Linked DNA regions of Homo sapiens: region 1 is linked to region 2. Evidence: promoter capture Hi-C in 16 types of primary human blood cells and fetal thymus (Javierre and others, 2016). All regions are on one chromosome and are shown on one strand. The core of a region is centred on a gene start or on the middle of the fragment in contact, and the rest is flanking DNA. Distances in the headings are between cores, read along the strand shown.

Region 1 (4,149 bases), core at 755-3,254, 540 kb before region 2:
ACAATTATAAAGTGAAATTTAAAACATTACTTAAAATAGCATCAAAAATGTGAAATATGAATAATTCTGATAAGATGTGCAAGACCTGAACACTGAACACTGCCAAACATTGATGAGAGAAATTAAACTCCTAAGTCCATGTAGAGACAGACCTTGTTCATGTACTGGAAGACTCGATATTGCTGAGATATGCTCTCCAACTTGAACTACAGGTCAGTGCTACCCAATCAGAATTCCAGTAGGTTTTTTTGTGTGTGGAAATTGACAAACTGATTCTAAAATTAATATGGAAATGCAAAGGACCAAGAGCAGCTGAAACAACCTTGAAAAAGAAAAGTGAATTGAGGGGACGTCCACCATCTGACTTGAAGGGCTGTTGCAAGTCTATTGTAATCAAGACAGCGAGGTATTGATATTAACACAGAAATATAGATCAACCGAGTCCAGAAATAGACCCATGCATCTATTGTCATTTGATTTTAAGTAAAGGTACAGAAGAACTTCAGTGAAAAAATAATGATCTTTTCACCATCTATATGCAAAAAATTAATCTCACACCATGTGCAAAAATTATCCCAAAATGGATCACAACTGGAATCTAAAATGATAAACCATCTAAAGGAAAATGTAAGAGAAAAATCTTTGTCATTTTTGAGTTATATTTCTGAAATATAACACTAAAATTATGATCTATAGAAGAAAGAGATCGATAAATTGGACTTCATCAAAATTAGGAACTTATGCCCTTTAAAATACACTGTTAAGAAAATAAAAAGACAAGCCACAGACTGGGAATAATACTTGTAAATCACATAACTGATAAAGGACTTGTATCCAGAATATACAAAGAACCCCCAGCACTCAATAAACAGAAATAATCCAATTTAGAAATAGACAAAAGATTTCAACAGACCTTTCACCAGTGAAGATATATGGATGGCGAACAGCACATAAAAAGATGCAAGAACATTAGTCATTAGGAAGATAGAAATTAAAATTACAGTGAGACACCATCATGCACCCACTAGAATGCCTGAAAATTTAAAAAGACTAAACATGTCAAATGTTGATGGGAGGTACAGCAACCAGAGCTCTCACACTGAGCTGATGGAAATACCAGTGCTTCAACCACCTGGAAAAGAGTTTAGCAGATGCAGGCTGGGCACCGTGGCTCACGCCTGTAATCCCAGCACTTTGGGGCTCCTGAGGTCAGGAGTTCAAGACCAACCAGGCCAACATGACGAAACCCCATCTGTACTAAAATACAAAGTTAGCTGGGCGTGGTGGTGCACGCCTGTAGTCCCAGCTACTCGGGAGGCTGAGGCAGGAGAATCGCTTAAACTCAGGAGGCAGAGGTTGCAGTGAGCTGAGATCACGCCATTGCACTCCAGCCTGGGCAATAAGACTGAAACTCAGTCTCAAAAAAAAAAAAAACTTTTACTGCCTTTGTATTTTTCAGGAAGAGGGTAGAGATTTTGATTGGGACTCTGGACTTTGTCAAATATCCATGTTGAAAATGTAAGAGCAACTATTCAAAGAATGGAGACGCAGTGTGTCTGTCCGTGGAGTCCCAACAGGAAACAGGGTGGCTGAGGAATGCTAACAAAGAAGCCATTCACCGCGGCATGGGCGGGGGGTGGCAGCGGGAAGGAGGGTGGCCCTGCAGGTCGCTGGACCTGCCGGCACTTGCTACCTCAGGCAGATCCTGGTAGAGGGCTGCTGCTTCCCGTTACGGTAGAACAGGTTTCTCCATTTCCAAGGTGTGTGTGTGTGTGTGTGTGTGTGTGTGTGTTTTGAGACAGAGTTTCACTTCCGCCTCCCGGGTTCAAGCGATTCTCCTGCCTCAGCCTCCCCAGTAGCTGGGAATACAGGCATGAGCCACCACACCCGGCTAATTTTGTATTTTTAGTAGAGACAGGGTTTCACCATGTTGGTCAGGCTGGTCTCGAACTCCCAACCTCAGGTGATCCACCCGCCTCAGCCTCCCAAAGTGCTGGGATTACAGGTGCGAGCCACCACGCCCAGCCTCCAAGGTGTTTTATCTGCTGTGTATTCACCTGGTTCTGAAAAGTCCCAACGAAACAACTTAATATTACAAATTTCATCATCAAAATGGCTGACCCCAATCAGGAAACATGTGGGCTCCTGAACATTCCAGAAGCAGCAGCGATGCCAGACAGGTGAGCCCCAAAATTGAGGCTGAGCCTGGGAAAGAATTCAAGGACGAGCCGGTGTGTTAGACAGCAACTTTTAATTTTTTGAGACAGGATCTTTCTCTGTCGCCCAGGCTGGAGCACAGTGGTGCCATCATAGCTCATTGCAGCCTTGACCTCCTGGGCTCAAGCAATCCTCCTGTCTCAGTCTCCCGAGTAGCTGGGACTACAGACGTGTGCCACCACACCCAGCTAATTTTTGTATTTTTTTGTTGTAAAGACGGGGTTTTGCCATGTTGCCCAGGCGGGTCTTGAACTCCTGGGCTCAAGCAATCCGCCCACATTGGCCTCCCAAAGTGCTGGGATTCCAGGAGTGAGCCCCTGCACCCAGCCTAGACAGCAACTGTTACTAAGTGGCCAACCAGACCTGCAGCAAAGGGGCTGCTCCTTGAGAACAGGGACCACCCGACAGGCAGTGCACCCAGAGTCGCAGCTGAGGCAGGGCTGAAGTCAAATTTATACCCCAAATTTTTTTTTTTTTGAGACAGGGTCTTGCTCTGTCACCCAAGCTGGAGTCTGGTGGCGCCATCAGGGCTCACCGCAGCCTTGAACTCCTGGGCCGAGGTGATCCTCCTACCTCGGACTCACAAAGTGCTGGGAATACAGGGATGAACCAGGGCATCCAGCCTGCCCACTTTTACTTACATGCAAATTAAGGGGCGGTTTATGCAGAAATTTCCAGGATGAGGGTGGCAACTTCTGGCTTGTCTGGTTGTTGCCATGGAAAGGGGCAGTAACTTCTGGGTGTTACCACGGAATGGTAAAATGACATGGCACACTGGTGGGCGTGTCTTACAGGGAGGTGCTTCCACCTCCCTGTAAGACACTTGTTTTAGCTAATCCTCACTTTGGTCCAGTGTCCAAACCCCACCTCCGGAGTTGAGTCCTGCCTCCTACCTCAGGAGGAAGGCTGCCCCAACTGCTGGGCCCTGGGAGAGGCCGTTCTTCAGTGCTGGGAATGCATTGAGCAGGGCTGCACGCCACAGACAGGAGTGGAGCCCTCCCACCCCAACACACACACAAGGCCACCCAGCAGTCTTGTGTCCTGGGCAGAGGGCTGATATGGGGAGGGGCAGCCCCCAGGCAGGAGACAGTGGAATTGTGATGGGGATTGCACTGAATTTGCAGGTCAGCTTGGGGAGTGATGCTGAGATGACTTTCCGTTCAATCATGTCCTCTTCATTTCCTTCAGTAATGTTTTCTAGTCTTAAATATACAAGTCTTGACTTTCTTTGGCTACGTTTATTCCTGAGTATTTTATTATTTGCAGTGCTATTGTGTGTGGAGCTGTTTGCTTAGTCTCATGTTTGGATTGCCTACTGCTAGCATGAAATACAACTGATGTTTGTATATTGTGGAGACAGCCCACCGAGCATCGCACCTGTCCTCCAGGGCCTCTCAGGACAGCCCAGCACGGTGGCTGGGCCTCGGGGGCAGACCAGCTTGCCCTCCCTACTGGATCATATGCAGGCAGGACCCGGGTCTCTGGGTCCCAAGCTCTCGCCCCCGGCCTGTTTGCCCACCAGGTCCCAGGGACAACGCTGTCAACAGGCTCCTCCTCCCTGGGCCTGGCATGGAAGGGCTTCTTGGTTCTGAGGCCTCAGCTGGTTCCAGCCGACCAACCCACAGCTCCCTGGCAGCCGCCACCCTGAACTGGAGTCTCGCCATAACCCTGGGCTGCGGGCCCTGCTGGGTGAGGAAGAGAATGCTTAGGTAGCTGCAGCTGCTGACCCGGAGGAGGAACCTCTCTCCTGGAGGCATTCATCCCACACTCTAAGGAAAGGGAATGGACCACTTGAGCCCAGGAGTTCGAGGCAAGGCAGGACGCCCTGAAGGGATGGGGCAGCTGTGATCTGTGGGAAGTGGCTTCCTGCTCTACCCGTCTCGGAACAGGAGGCTTTGCCGTCCTAGAAACGCGTTCGGAAGATGGGACACC
Region 2 (4,312 bases), core at 906-3,405:
GAGGGACGGCAGCTGGGTTGGCCACCCTGGGCCGTGCCAGGCTTCTCCCCTTCCCAGCTTGGCAGCCTTGGCCACTTACTCACCCTGTTCATCAGACGGGCTGAGGCCCAGGGCTTGGGAGGCACCAATGGCAGGACTCCAGCTGTAGCACTGGCCCTGGCACCAGGTAAGCGCTTGCTGGAAGCCTGCTCTCATCACGCCTGGGGCAAATACAAGTCACCCAGACCTGTCCACAGGGCCTCAGGCCCAGGTGTGGCCTCTAAGTGGATGAACGACCGACCCCTGACCCACTGAACTCTGAGCTTTAGGGCCAGTTTGGGGGCCAGCCTGATGGGGGTGGAACAGGCCTCACTCTAGCCCGGCAGCAGGCATCGGGGAAGACTTTCCAGATGGCAGGACAGCCTGAGTGGTGCGCGTGTGACACAGGGCCTGCCTCCGCCCCACTGCCACCTCCCACGGGCCCCTCCCCAGTACCCTGACTGTGGGGTCATTTCTGGACGCTGTGAGAGACACGGCAGCCTGGAAACAGCTTCTCCCCAACTTTCCAAGGTGGCAGCCCAGGGAGGGCCAGGACAGGGAGCCCAGGCACAGCCCCCAGCCTGAAAAGCGTCACCTCCGGAGCCCTCTGGGACATCTTGTTTGTACAGCCTCCCAAACATTCCACCCAAAACAACATGTGCCGTCCCAGGCCACCTGCAGGCATGGCCGCCCTGACAGAGCAAGTTCATAGGGGGCAGGCACAGGCTGCCTCTTTCCCTCCAGTGCCCAGGAGGTGCTGCAGCCTCTGGCACGCCTCGGGGTGGGCAAGAAGGGCGTCCTTGAGGGCTACGGTCAGCATCACCAGCCCAGTGACCTGAAGCCAAACCCTGGCTGATAGCACCGCCTCCTCCTCTAGGAGACCTAACCCCAAACACCAAAGCCGAGTAGAACCAGCCCAGGGACAACACAGTCTGACGTCCCAGAGGGGAGGAGGGCCGCGCGCTATCAAAGGCTCACCCGGGGCGAGGAGCAGGAGCAGCCCGCGGCTGAAAGCCCGTGGCGGGCGTGGGCGCCCAGGGCCTGGCAGGAGGACTGGGGCAGCCTCGAGCTGGTCCGCAGGGAACAAGCAGGCTCTGGGCTGCAGAGCAAGGCCCACAGACGTCCCCTCCTTCCCAGGCACAGACTCAGCAGGTCTCCACAGCCCTGCCCACCCCTCCCACTTGCCCAGTCAGCACCCCGGGTTAGGGACTTCAGAAGGGAAGGAGGTTTGGGAAGTGAGAAGAGGCCAGCCGGGAAGACCTCTCTCGGTTTCCCATACCCAGGAGGCTTCGCTGCCCGCTGCTACCAGTGCACCCAATGGGCATGCAGTTCCTGAGCGGATGCAGAGGGAGGACCGAACTAGGGAAGGAGGCTGTACAGGTGCCGGAAAGGAACACGATGGCGGGTGTGGGGAGGGCGCTCACAGAGCCCAGCCCCACATCCGCCCAGAAGGGGGACACGAGGAGGGCGTCCCCCCAACCCGCTTCAGCGGTGAGGATGATCCAGACTTTGGCTGTCCGCATTTCCCGGCTCACATGAGTGGCCTGGAAGCACCTCCACCGAGCTCAGAGGAGGAGGGACGCAGGCTCTGGCCTCAGTTTCCCTGCCTGCGTCCGGGCCGAATGAGACGTAGGAGGGGGGCGCCCGGAACGCGCCTCGAGGGGGGGCAGGAAAAGGCCGGGATTCCGGGCCCCTCCTCCCGCCGCCGCGCCAGTTCTGCGCACCTGCAGCCGCGGGCTCTCCTCGCCGGCGCCCGCGCCGTCCGGCCTCTCCTCCAGGATCATCGCCGCACCCGCTGCGCTGGGGGTCCCTCGGGGTCAGCCAGCCCGCCGCTCGCGCAGCGCTCCGCAGCCGGGCTAGGGCCGCCCGCACCACCTGGGCCGCGGGCTCCTGAGTGCCCGCGCCGGTCCCCGACTGTCCCTCCTGAGTGGGGGCGGCCCGCGGCGCGGCTGGGCGGGGCACGGGTCTGGCGTGCGAAGCTGGCCATTGCCCAATAGGCGGCAATGCCGCTTCGACGGACAGCTATATCAGCCAACCAGAGTTCCAGGAAGGCGGGCTCTGGACGGCCAGCTCCGCCCGCCCGCGGGACGGTAACCCCTGGCAACCGCGGCCGGAACGCCCGCGGCTGGCTGGCAGGTTGTACTGCGCATGCGCCGCGGCGGCCGCTGAGCGTGCGGGAGAAGTTCGGGAAACGGAGAAAAAAACTATACGGAACGTCCCAAGCTGAGAGTCAGGGCGGACCTGGACTCGGCGCGCCTAGCTCCTCGGCTCCCTTTGCGGGGACTCCAGGAGTCTGCCCGCTCGCGCCGTTTCGTCCTGTCACCCCGGCAACGGGACCCTCTAAGAGGCTTGTTCCAAAAATGTTCACAATGGGGTTTTTAAAAACGGTTTTGTTAGGGACAAGTGCTTGTGTGAGTCCTCCGACAATGCCTGCTTTCTTCTCTCTGCCCGCGGAGCGGAGGCTCCAGGCCTGGCCCCAGTCCGAGGCGCCTCTGTCGGTGTCGTCCTGCTTCCAAAACCGGCCTCCAGAACCCGCCTCCTTCCAGAACCTCCGTCCAGAACCCGCCTCCCTCCAGAACCTCCGTACAGAACCCACATCCTTCTAGCACCTGCCTCTGGAACCCACGTGCTTTCAGAACTACCTGTTTGTAGAACTTGTTTCCAGAACGAACCTGCTTTCCGAATCTCTTTACTTCCAGAGCTTGTTTCCTGGACTGACCTATTTTCAGAACCTACTTTCAAAACCAGCTTGCCTCCAGGACCACCTGCTTGGAGAACTGGCCTGCAGCCCCAGGACTGGACGACCTGAGACTGCACAGCTCCCTGCGGGGCTCACCCGGCTGTGTGTGTCCTTCCGGGCCTTCCATACTTCCCTAGGTGTCTGGTGACTCCGGAGCCCGCTCGGATTTCGTGTGGGTCTCGCCTCAGCTCAGAACACACCCTTTGAAGAGCAGGAAGGCCAGGGCACAGGCGGTAACCACGGCTCCTGGTCATCAAGTTCCTCTGAAGCCCAGGTCTTGTCCACGTTCACTGCCCCACCACAGGCCCAGCGGAGCCTTGGAGCTGAGCCCTGGGATCATTCTGGTGCCTGTGCTCCCGGCTCCGCAACAAGCACACAGGAGCCTGTCATCCCCAGATCTAAATCCTGAAGGCTAAGCTCCGTGGTCTGCCGCAGCCATCTGCAGCAGGCCCCTCCCAGCAACAGCCTTCTCATAAGGCCCCTGCCAGCCACGCGAAACCTCCTGGCTAGGGCCTGTCTTCCACTCCTGGCCTTTTGAGACAGGGCCTCACTCTGTTCCCCAGGCCGGAGTGCAGTGGTACGATCACAGCTCACTGCAGCCTCCACCTCCTGGGCTCATGTGATCCTCCCACCTCAGCCTCCTGAATAGCTGGGACTACAGGCTTGCACCACCACACCCGGCTAATTTTTGTATATTTTGTAGAGACAGGGTTTCGCCACATTGCCCAGGCCCAGGCTGGTCTCAAACTTCTGGGCTCAAGCAATTCATCTGCCTCAACCTCCCAAAAGTGCTGGATTACAGGGATGAGCCACCATACCCGGCTTTTTTTTTTCTTTCTCCTGGCCTTTTGGGGCCCTTGAAGTGTCTGCTCCCTGGGAGCCCTTCAGCTTGTCGTCCACTTGGTGGGTTCCCACCCGTCCTTCTCACTTCTGCCTGAATCACACAGGCTACATGAGACCTTCACCCACCCCCTTCGCCAGCAGCTCTGTGGTTCAAGTTTCCTCAAGGTTAGGGGCTCCTGGCCATCTTACCTGTGGGCCTGAGCATGGGCCGATGCTTCCAAAGTTCACACTGGGTGCACTTGTGTGGGGACTTCCATGTGAGTCATCTCCTTGCAGGCTGCCAAGGTCCTGTACAGCAGAGACCCAAACCCTCTTAGCAGTCTTCAGAGTCAGCTATGTGTACAGGAGGCATTACCATATCAGTGACTGTCAGCAAGCATGTGTGACTGAAATGGTATCCAGTTCTTACGTATTTGTTTTGCAGGCTTCTTGGTTCAGCAGACAGAGGCCATTGGGAAGTTAAGAGAGGCTCTCAAACTTTGAGGGTCATAAGACTTCCCCTCCCTGCAGGGTGCTGTTTCCTGAAGGAAAATATTCAATTACTATTTTCTTTATTTATTTATTGAGATGGAGTCTTGCTCTTGTCGCCCAGGCTGGAGTGTGTGCGTGTGCGTGTGTGCGTGTGCGTGTGTGTGCGTGCATATGTGCGTGTGTGCGTGTGTGTGTGTGTGTGTGTGTGTTGGAGGGGGGTGGTGCTGCCTTTTTCTTTGC

The links. Contacts are between HindIII fragments. The CHiCAGO score rates a contact against its expected background, and 5 or more counts as called.
Region 1: a contact is called between a fragment that was not itself captured here and the fragment with the promoter of RHPN1-AS1 in region 2, in 1 of 17 cell types (activated CD4 T cells). The highest score is 6.0, in activated CD4 T cells.

What each region holds. Positions count from the first base shown.
Region 1 is chr8:143,903,729-143,907,877 of GRCh38, reverse strand. No RefSeq gene overlaps it. Among named protein-coding and RNA genes, the nearest start is that of EPPK1, 27 kb to the right of the region's middle. The HindIII fragment of the contact is 4,462 bases long and covers 1-4,149 here.
Region 2 is chr8:143,366,478-143,370,789 of GRCh38, reverse strand. It overlaps RHPN1-AS1 (RHPN1 antisense RNA 1), which reads left to right and starts at 2,155. Exons shown (of 1, transcript NR_026785.1): 1 at 2,155-4,167. It overlaps RHPN1 (rhophilin Rho GTPase binding protein 1), which reads right to left and starts at 1,914. Exons shown (of 15, transcript NM_052924.3): 1 at 1,743-1,914. The coding sequence starts at 1,802. RefSeq lists enhancers at 1-752, 753-1,660, 2,401-2,956 and silencers at 1,448-1,497, 1,698-2,157, 2,168-2,237. The HindIII fragment of the contact is 29,655 bases long and covers 1-4,312 here.